Regions from separate parts of the Homo sapiens genome. Here region 1 is linked to region 2. The links are contacts of gene promoters, found by promoter capture Hi-C in human tissues and cell types (Jung and others, 2019). All regions are on one chromosome and are shown on one strand. Each heading gives the region's core, a stretch centred on a gene start or on the middle of the fragment in contact. The rest is flanking DNA. Distances are from core to core; before and after follow the strand shown. Region 1 overlaps CSMD2 (CUB and Sushi multiple domains 2). Region 2 holds the start of CSMD2 (CUB and Sushi multiple domains 2).

Region 1 (5,486 bases), core at 879-3,378, 180 kb before region 2:
CTCAATTAAGACAGTTGTTTTATTTTCTTCGCTTGTGCCTTTGAGGAACTCTCTGTCCACTCAACCATTGCTCCAGTTCCTCCATTCATCCTTCCATCCATCTCATATTTATGAGCACCTACTACGTGTCAGACCGTGGACTAGGTGCTAAGTCCCTGCTCTCTAGAAGATTAGAGTCTAGTAGGGGTGGTAGGCAGTCATCAGAAAGCCCAACAAGTATATGCAAATGCTAATCATTGTTCTCACTGAAGATGATGAAACGAAGGAAAATGGAGAAGGATAATCTGATCTTGTCTCTCTGATAAAGTGGTATTGGAACTCAGATCTGAAGGATGGGGTGGGGAACTTCCAGAAGGAGGGCCTGGCATGTGCAAAGGTCAGGTAGTGGGAGGATACAAGCCTATCTGAAGAACTGAGAGAAAGTAACATGGTGGAGCATGGGAGGGGAGGGAAAAGTTACTTCAGAATAGACCAGGCGAACCAGTCTTATTTGTGGGCCCGTGAGAGATACCCCTGGGGTCTCTTGGGCACACTTCTGTTGGGAGAGAGGAGAAAGTGCAGGGACCCAGTATTGCAGAGGCAGTGGGTGATGTGAGTGCTCCGAAGCTCTTCTGCTCCCCAGATGCAGCCTCTGCTCTGGTTGTTTTGCAGTCCTTACTCCCGGTTGTTTGCAGTTCAACATTCCAGCTATTTGCACTCACTTCCCACTTATTTGCAGGCCTTATCCTCAGGAGTGTGCAGTCACAGCCCCAGCTGTTCATAAGCACTTTCTCAGCTGTTTGCAGCTTCCACCCTCAGCTCTGTATAGTCCCTTCCAGCTGTGTGCAGTTGCCATCCTCGTTATTTGCAATTTTCATCCCCCTTTGGGCATCAGGTAAGGCTTGCTCAAGATTGGTTCTAACAACAAGACTCATTACTAGTAGCTTATAATTGAGTATCTGACTTGTGCTAGGGGCTGTTTTGAGTACTTTTACCTATACTTTCTCATTTGATCGTCATAACAACCCCTTCATTTGTTCATCACGTATTTCCGTCCTACTCTATATCTGGCCCTGGGCCACGCACTGAGTATACAGTAGAGACCAGAACTAGATATGTTGCCACTCTCCTGGAGCTTTCAGTCTCATGAAGGAGACAGGTGCTCATACAGCAATGACACTGCCAAGTATGTAATCATAGAGCCAGACTGGCCCATGAGGGAAGCAAAGGCATTTGGGCTGGACAGGCCATCAGAGGAGAACCCCTGGGACAATGAGTCTGGAGCTGAGAGCTGAGGAATGGGCACAGTGAGGTTCTGCTGGGATGGGGCTGCAGGATAAGAAGCACCCCCAGGTGGAAGGGGTCCCCTGTGCAGATGCTTCAGAGGGAGGGCTGAGAAAGGGCAGAGAGGGCAGTATGGGAGGCCTGTGGAAGTCACACTGGGTGCCCTGATCAGAGTGGCTGTAAGTCTGCTGATTTGTGCCGAGGGCATGGGTGAAGGCAGAGAAGGCAATTTAGAGCTACCATAGCTGTCCAGGTGAGACAAGATGGAACCTCAGGCTAGTGGGTGACAGGACGGTGAAGAAAAGTGGAAAGTGGACAGATGTCAGAAACATTCAGAAGGCAAACAGAAGTGGGTGATGGAGAGATCAGTGGCCAAAATGACTACCAGTTTTCTTGGGGGGCTACTGGATGAACAGACGTTCCATCCTCTGAGCTGGGAGCAACAGAGGAGAACCAGGGCGGGAGGAAGGAGGAGCAAGATCACAGGAGACATTGAGAAACAGACCTTTGCAAAGGGGCTGCACAGTGGCACAGTGCCACAGTGCCCAAGCCCTGGGCTCTGAAGCCAGACTCTGTGCTCCAGTCCTGACCCTCTACCTTCTAGTAGTTTGTCCTTGAGAAAGCCATTTAACCACACCGTGCTTCAGTTTCCTCATTAGCAAACTGTGGAAGGGAGGAGAGAGGTTATCCTGAAGCTTCTTGGACTGGGAGTATTTTAAATGAGTTGATGAATCTATCACAGGCACTGTACGTCCCCAGACTCTAGCTTAGTATGTGGCACATGGTAGGAACTCACTCAATTCATGTTGAATGACTGAATGAATGACGGACCTGTGAAGAGACTCCTGGAATAGGTTATAGGAGACCTGCCAGTTGGTGGAGGAAAGGATATCCCTGGCAGAGGGAGCAGCAGGTGCACAGGCAGAGATGACCGCAAGGGCATGGCACCCTCAAGGCGCTGGATCTACTGTGGCCTTGGTGGAGCACAGGGCACAGGGAGGGCTGGCAAAGATGTGGGTGAAGGGGTAGGCAGAACCCAGCTCGTGAAGGCTTTGTACATCCAAGACATTTGGACCAGACCCTAGGAGTCCAAGGGAGTCTTGAGGGACTCAGAACAAGGGATGGCAGGGCTAGGAGCCCAAGAAGGATGAATTAAAGGGGAGTGAGATGAGGAGGGCAACACTTCTAAGAAGGCAGGGTGTGAGCAGAGACCTGCAGGATCAGGGGAGTGGGGACCCAGCTGTCTACAGATGGGCTGTTACAGGAAGAGCCTGATTGCCAGAGCCTCCCATTGCCAGCCCAGCTTCTCAGACACTCCCTTAGGGGTCTACAGTTATGACAAGGGCCCTCTGCAGAGGGAGACTGGAGGCAGGGAGCTGCTTAGAAGGCAGTGCAACAATCCAGGTGGGAGATGGCTTTTTAAAAAAATATCCGATGATTATTTTTTGAGCACTTAGCAGATGCCAAGAACTTATTTATGGCCTCATGCTCAAGGATGTGGGCAATGCAGCAGGTCTAATCACCTGCCTCTCCCCTCCTTGCCACCTATCTTGGGGCATCTCTCTACTTGGGAACATTTTTCCCTGTGGGAAGTTCTAGCGGGCAAGAAGGGAGGAAAGAACTGACATCAAATCCTTGGAGACTGGTTATGTAGAAAGTAATTTCAAAGAGTCTGCAGGAATATTTGCAGATCTGGTCTGTAATCTGCAAGACTTCCTCTTCTTGGGGACAGACCTGGTTCTCACAGAACGTCTGCTGTCTTAGTCTATCTCTCCCTGTAGCAGAAGGATGTCTCGGTGGTCAAGGCTAAAGTGAGAACTTGTGAAGCTGCAGGTCACAGGCATGCTTTCTCCCCAGCCCATCACCCATCCTACTACCTCTGAGGTCAGGGACATCAGAGGACAGGATCTCTGTAAAGGAGAGAAAGACGTTTTGAGGAAGCTTGTTTCTGTGCATGTATTGGGCAGCCTGCCTCCCTGAAGCTGTTAGCCGAGAGTGAACATTAACATCTCAGGGCAGACGAAAGACTTGCACCATAACCAGGGGTGTTATGAAAAATGGACATAGGCCGGGTGCAGTGGCTCATGCCTGGAATCCCAGCACCAAGGGAGGCCAAGGCAGGTGGATCACCTAAGGTCAGGAGTTAAAGACCAGCCTGACCAACATGGTGAAACCCTGTCTCTACTAAAAATACAAAAAATTAGCTAGGCGTGGTGGCGCATGCCTGTAGTCCCAGCTACTCGGGAGGCTGAGGCAGGAGAATGGCGTGAACCCTGGAGGCGGAGCTTGCAGGGAGCCGAGATCGCGCCACTGCACTCCAGCCTGGGTGACAGAGCGAGACTCTGTCTCCCCCCACCAAAAAAAAAAAAGGACAAAATGGACATAGCTTGGGCCTTCCCTTACTCCTGAGTCAGAATCTCATGGAGGAAGCCAGGGAATCTGCATTTTGACAAGCTCCTCAGTGATCCTGATTTAGACTAAGGCAGTGCTTCTTCAACAGTGTAGAGATCACTTGTGGATCTTGAAAGTGCAACAGGTTCTATTTCACTCGGTGTGGGGTGGGGGCTGAGTTCTGCATTTCTAACAAGCTCTCAGGGGGTGCCCATGCAGCTGCTTCTCAGATCACACTCAAAGCAGCAAGACACTCAAGTGTGAAGCTCTGGTTTCCAAACTTGCTTTTTAAGAAAACAAATCCCTCCCAAAAGAAATCTTGGTCTGGGTGCAGTGGCTCACGCCTGCGCTTTGGGAGGTGGAGGAAGAAGGATTGCAGGAGTTCCAGACCAGCCTGGGCAACATAGCGAGACTCTGTCTTTACAAAAAGTAAAAACATTACCCAGATACGGTGGCATGCATCTTTAGTCCCAACTACTCGGGAGGTTGAGGTGAGAGGATCCCTTGGGTCCAGAAGTTGAAGGCTGCAGTGAGCTGAGATTTTTCCACTGCATTCAAGCTTGGGTGACAGAGTGAGACCCTGTCAAAAGAAAAAGGAAAGGAAAGGGAAAGGGAGAAGGGAGGGAGGGAAGGAGGGAAGGAGGAAGGAAGGAAGGAAGGAAGGAAGGCAGGCAGGCAGGCAGGCAGGCAGGAAGGAAGGAAGGAAATCTCACACAGAACCCCAGAACCCCAGTGTATAAAAGAGGTGATGTTAATATAAAAGTATTGCACAAATGGGTAATGATTGCTTATTATAAAACCTCTCAAAGAAAACAAGGCAGCTTTGATGAAGGCAGACGTGTGGCGTTAACGGTTCCCATTGCTATCGTACATGGACCTCAGAATCCATCATATTCAAGCCAAGTGTGTGCAGTAACGCAATGCCACAGCTTCAAGGCTTCACCAGCAGGTCGATGGAGGGGAAGCTGTCCTGGAGGGATGGAGCCCTGGGCTGTCTCCCTTTCACTATGGAGACTCAAAACTCAGGACTTAGCCTTCCTTCCCCATCCACCCCACCCCTCCCTGGGAAGTAGTCACAGCTAAATTTAGCTGGGAGCTAGGCTTTCTAGGGGAGGCGAGAGTGAGAGGGAAACTGTGAGGAACAATGCCAGGCACACTAATTAGTGGTTTGGCAGCTGGGGAGGACAGGAGGGACTGCGGTGGGCCAGGCCCTGAGGCTGCCCAGGCTCCTCTGGAGGAAGGCAGGACGTAGCCACGTCTGCAGGGCTTGGCAGAGAGGTGGAAGTGGTCCATCTGTTGGGAAGGCATGGGGCTGGCTTGGAGGGTGCTTGTAGGAAAGATCAAGCCAGTGGAGTCGAAACGTACCCGAGTGTGAATCCTGGTGCTGCCACTTGCTCACTGTGTGTCTCTAGGTAAGTTGTTTAACCTCTCTTGGCTTTGGATAAAAAAGGGACACTCAATACTTTAAGGAGGTTAAGTAGGATAATGTATGTGAAAGTCCCTGCTCCCCAGTAGATCTTGTGCCTTTGTTTTCCCTGGCTGGAGGTCAAGGTCCTTGGTGCACTGCCAAGCTTAGTCCTGCTGGTACAAACCTGTGCTCCCTTTCAAGCCTCCAGTCTATAGAGCGGAGGCCTGGAATCTCTTTGATCGCCCCACCCTTAGAGGAATGCATGGGGCCTCAGTCCACTCGCAGGCTGCCAGGGCACAGCGACTCATGTTCTGGTGGAAGGAGCAGTCACTCTCTGCTCTGAGCTGTTTCCCTTGTCCAACCCCTGAGCATCAGTTAGCACCCTGGATGGAGATGCTCCATTAATAAGTCTGACTGCCCCAAC
Region 2 (5,011 bases), core at 802-3,301:
AGACCGGCCTCGCCTCAACGTACGTCCGGGAGGCCTGGCGGGAGGTAGCAGCGATTCCCCCACCGCCCATGTGGCAAGTCTGGGTGACCAGCAGCGTCGGTATGCACAGCCTCCCAGTGGGTGTGGGTGTGCGAGAGGCCAGAGCTCCCAGGCGCGCGCACCGCGGGCGCCCCTCTCTGGGTGTCGGTGGCTATGACTCTTAGCAGAACCTAAGAAAGTCCCGTCAGCTAGGAATGAGAGAGCCAGAGCTGGCTCGGGGCGCCCTCCCTGACCAAGAACCCCAACATGCCGCGGTTAAGCGGTGGGCGACACGGTCTGCGAGGACAGACTCACAAGACGCTGAAGGCCAGAGTGGGCCAGAGAGCTCGCCACTCACTGACCTGCCAGAGGAGAGGCGCACTTTCCCAAGAAGGGGAACTGGGGTGGTCCAGGCCAAGCCTTCAGAGGTTCAATCGGTGGTTTCAAAACAAAACAAAACAAAACAAAAACAAAAACAAAAAAGAAAACACGGCTCCAGGTCGAAGGTGCCCTAGGTCTAGGCCTGGCCAGCAGGTGTTTCGGTTTCTCCCCCAGTGGGTGTCAGCCTCGCGGGCTAAATGAAAATGCGGTTCCAGGCATCCCGGTTTGGACCCGTCTCCACCCGGGCACACGGAACTTTCTAGCTTGTAGCTAGAACTGAGCTTCGGAGGGGTGCTGTGGGTAAAGCGGGAGGGCACCAGTCGCGGCCAGTAGCCTCCACAGGGGACCGGGTTCCCTCGAAGGTTCGCGTACCTCCCCCGCGCGCTGCAAGCTGCAGCCAGACACCCGCGAAGTTCCGGGACTCTCCGCACCCGCTAGATCTGCCCCTTCCCGGACTCGGTCGTCGGGAGCTGGTCCCGCCGCCCGCGCCGCCGCTGCCGCTGCCGCAGCCGAGGCGCTCGGCTGCAGCAGGGCGCGGGAAAGGGCACTTTGGCGCGGAGTGAGCACCGAGGGGAATGTGGCAGCGCGAAGCCTGGCGGCGGCACTCCCTCCCCCGCCTCGGGCTACAACCCCCACCCCCTCCTTCCCATCCCTCAACACCCTCCAGCCCCCACCTGCACCCTCCTGCAAGGAATGCGCGGGACCCCCACCGTGGGCACGCGTCCACCTGAACCCCCTCCTAGCTCCGAGCGCCGAGGGAGGGGTAGCATTTGAGGAGGGGGATGGCGGCCGCAGTCTGCAGTCGGTTCCAGAGGGGGCACCGGTTTCAATTGGAGAAAATGGGCGGGGGCAGGGAAGGGCAGACCTTGCAGACGCAGAAATGGGGAGGGGGCGCACGGTTCCTCTCCAGCCCCCAGGACCAGCGTGCCTGGCAGAATCAGGAGCCGGGGGAGTAGGGCTCCCGGAAAGTTTATCGGGAAAAAGCCTAGCACCGTGGGGGCTGGGAGGCTGGAGAAACTGAAGCCACAGACCAGGTGCCCCGCAACCCCGGGCGGGGATGTCTGTCTCCCAGGCCCCCACACCGGCCGCATCCGTCCAAGTTGCGGCTGGGGTTGGGGCAGCAGTGAGGGTGAGGGTGGAGGTGAGGACGTGGCTGAGGGTGGGGTGGGAGACGGAGGCAGGGATGAGAATGAGAGTAGGCAACTGGGAGGGTGGGAGATTCAGGCAGGGATAGAGGCGGGGGGAGGGACTGGGACCGGGTCGAGGATGGGTGGGCTCGGGGCTCGGGTGGGGCGCGCGGCGGCCGCTGGCTCCTCGGCGCGGCTGGACTCACCCGCGGCGGCCGAGACGCTGAGCAACCCACAGCCCAGCAACAGCAGCAGAGGCGGCGGCGTTGGCGGCGGCGGGCGGCCCCAGCGGCTCCCGGCGCCCGGCACAAGCGCCGAAATCCCGGTTTCGCCGCGAGCCCTCCCCGCGGGGCAGCCGCAGCGCCCCAGCTCCCGTCCCCGCGAGCGCGGCATGGCGCGGCCGGCAGCGCCGAGGGAGAGGCTCCGCTCGCCGCCGAGGAGAAAGGAGGTCAGGAGAGCTCTGGAGCTTTTTTCTGCTCGGAAAAAATCCCGGTACGCGGGAGCCCTGAGCTTCTGCGGCTGGAATGAACCAAGTGTCCGCCCGGCCGGGGAGAGGCGCGCTGCGCTCTCGGAAATGACTCGCTCCAATCCCGCTTCGCGGGGTTCGCGCCGGGGGGCGGGAGGGGGTGAATTATCCCCGGATTAATCACTCCGGAGCCGCTTCTCCGCCGCTCCAAATGCTGGGGGTGGAGGCGCAGCTAAGGATAAAATATTGGGGGGCGGGGGTTCCTCTTCAGCGCCACCTCCACCTCCAGATAAACCACAAATTACATCTAAAGGGTTGTTTATCCGTGTCTGTTTTGCAATTGACCAGTTTCTTTTAAGTTCAGTCCTCCTGTTTTCATTTATAACATCACCCATTAATACACCCCCCTCTCCACACACACACACACAAACACACACACACACACACAGTGACAGAGACACACGCACTCACACACACAGGCACATACACGCACACCTCTTCCACGTTTGGAAATTGGAATCCTGTCTGGGAAAAGGTAACCAAAGAAGGACGCGTTCCCCAAGTCTTGGCTCTTACCAGCTGATCTTGGGTGGTGGCTTTGAACTTGCCATCTAGGGCCGGGGGCGATGCTTATGAGCCTCATTCACAATAGCCTCCTACCCCATCCCAGGAGAGGGGCGTGTGTGCGTAGACAGAGGCAGGGTTAAGAATTGGAGGGCGGTGGAGGGGGGTTGTGTGTGGGGTGGGGAGGGGGGGGAACCGGTTCATTTGACCCAGTGCGGTCCCACTCCTACCCTAAGACAAAAATCTCAGGGTGGCAGAGGCGGTCCCTGTGTGCACGCGAGTTGGGGGTGGGGAGTGAGGTTGGTGGAAGGACGGTGCAAGAGTTACTAGTACAATTTATCCCCAAATTTAAATAATCGGATCCTACTTCTTCTTCTCCCCTTCCTCCTCCCAGCCAAGGCCCCAAACCAAGAGAGTTCTTCCCAAGGACGTGAGCTGCTCCCCACCTCTCCCCAGTAGCGGCTGCCTCTAGGCCCCAAGGGCTTAGTGTCGGTCCCCACCCCATCCCCCACCCGACTCGGTCGCCGTCTCTGTCTCGTCTACTCCAGGCTTCTCCGCCAGTCACGATGGCTCCTTCGCTGTCTACGCCAAACTCTCGGCGAGAGGGAAGAGACGCTTCATGGGGGGAGGCTGGAGGAAACTGGGAGGGGCAAGGTCCAGAGAGGAGGCTTCTGCTGGCGCGTGCAGTGGAAAGGCACCTGCGATGGGCACCCCCGCCCCCTTTGCCGACACACCCCAGAGAAGCTGTGCTCCGGGCTTAGGGCAGCCTGATTTGGCCAAAACGGAGCGTTGGCATCTGTGTGGCCAAGGGGGCAGTGGCCGGCGGGCGGTGGGGCCTGAGAATTTCCGGGGAAGGGTGTGGAGAGGGACTGTAGGGATGGCGAGCCAGGCTGGGGGTGGCTGGCGACCCAGGTTGGCCGGCTGTCAGCGTGGCCAGGAATTTCCATCCAAGGAAGGGTGTGAAGAGGGGCTGTGGAGTTGACGATATGAATTGGGGGGCGGGGGCAGGGCTGGAGGAGTGGAGGCTTGTCCCTACTCCCCATGAAAAACTTCCTCCCCAGAGCCACGCTTTCGCAGCCTCCTAGATGCCACTCTTCCTCCCTCCCCCCACCCCAAGTTGTTCCGGTTTCCCTGCATGAGCTCATCCCACAGCTGGGGAGCCAGCCCGGTGGCCCTGGGCGGGCGAATCTCCTCAGAATCGCGGGCCTGGTCCCCACCCCCAACACGCTTGTATGCCCGCCCCTCCCGACGCCGCCTTGCTGGGTGCCAAGAACCAACCGAAGCAGCCAGAACTCCTCAGTGAAAGGCCTGCTTTATGTTCCCGGGGCAGTGAGGAGGGGGCTTCTCCCTTCCCATTGTCCAGACTCAGCCCCCGAAAGAGAGGGCTCAGCCTTCCCACCAGCCCTGGAGAGGAGGAAGGGACTGACTACGCCAGCAGTGAGTGGTGGTGGTGGCCTTGGGGGCTGTTAGCTGGGCTTGCCTGGGGGTGGGCTCCTGGCTTCTAAGCTCCGACTTTACCCCTCTCTTGGAGGCGGGGTTCTCCTCCAGAGAAAGGAACTGGCAGAGATGCCCAGGCCTCCTGTGCAGCCCACAGCTGGGCAGAAGAGAGTCTGGGCTGCTCTGTAATTCTGGGGCTGCAGGCCAATGGGCTTTCTCTTACCCTCTTCTCAGCTCCAGAACTTTGCTCTGTGGCTGCAACGGGCAGATGAGATTTACCCCCAGAACTTTCCCGGGCAAAAGGAGCGTTTGTCATCCTTCTCCCTGGGGGCTGTGGAGGGCAGGGCACCTATTTTATCCCTGCAAAAGGCCCAGTTACTCACATCCTCCGCCATTCCTGCTCTCTGATCTATTTGGGTCCACGTGCTTTCACTGAGCGCCTCCTGTGCTCGGGGGCCCTGAGCGAGGCTGTGCTCTGGGCCCTGCAGAGATGCACAGTGTGTGGTCCTGCTTTGGGAGGATGCAGGCCAGAGGTGGAAACCCACACGTAACTGATACCGTCAGACAGCGATAATCACCATGACTGAAGAACCGGCATGCTACCGAGAGGCATGTCAAGACAGTGAGCTTTTCCTGGACTTGGGGGATCAGAAGGCTAATTTAAGAAGGAAAGTAGGATTTGGTCTGGAACCTGAGACATGGATAAAGACCTTGAAAAGATGAAGATTCATTTACTCAACAAATATTTATTGAGCATCATTATGTGCCTGGGTGCTGTGCTAGACAATGAATATACACCTAGTGCACAGTCCCTGACTTGATGAAGGCAGAAAATATGTATACAAATACACATAAAGTTACTAATTAAGGATGCTACAAAAGGAAAGTTTATGGTGCTAGGAGAAACAATATGGGGATGTGCTTTAAGGAGATGGTCTGAGAAGGCCTCTCTGAGATGGCAACGGTGGAAGATGGGATCTAAAATTAAGCAAGATGCTCAGGAGGCTAAAGCCAGAGG

The links. Contacts are between HindIII fragments. The study calls those that stand out against the background at their distance.
Region 1: a contact is called between a fragment that was not itself captured here and the fragment with the promoter of CSMD2 in region 2, in 1 of the 25 tissues and cell types used here (dorsolateral prefrontal cortex).

What each region holds. Positions count from the first base shown.
Region 1 is chr1:33,980,542-33,986,027 of GRCh38, forward strand. The region is part of intron 3 of CSMD2 (CUB and Sushi multiple domains 2); the gene reads right to left. Among named protein-coding and RNA genes, the nearest start is that of CSMD2-AS1, 110 kb to the left of the region's middle. The HindIII fragment of the contact is 3,159 bases long and covers 550-3,708 here.
Region 2 is chr1:34,163,179-34,168,189 of GRCh38, forward strand. CSMD2 (CUB and Sushi multiple domains 2) reads right to left here and starts at 2,052. Exons shown (of 71, transcript NM_001281956.2): 1 at 1,733-2,052. The coding sequence starts at 1,919. It also overlaps a transcript of C1orf94 not described here. RefSeq lists enhancers at 1-82, 503-562. The HindIII fragment of the contact is 8,389 bases long and covers 1-5,011 here.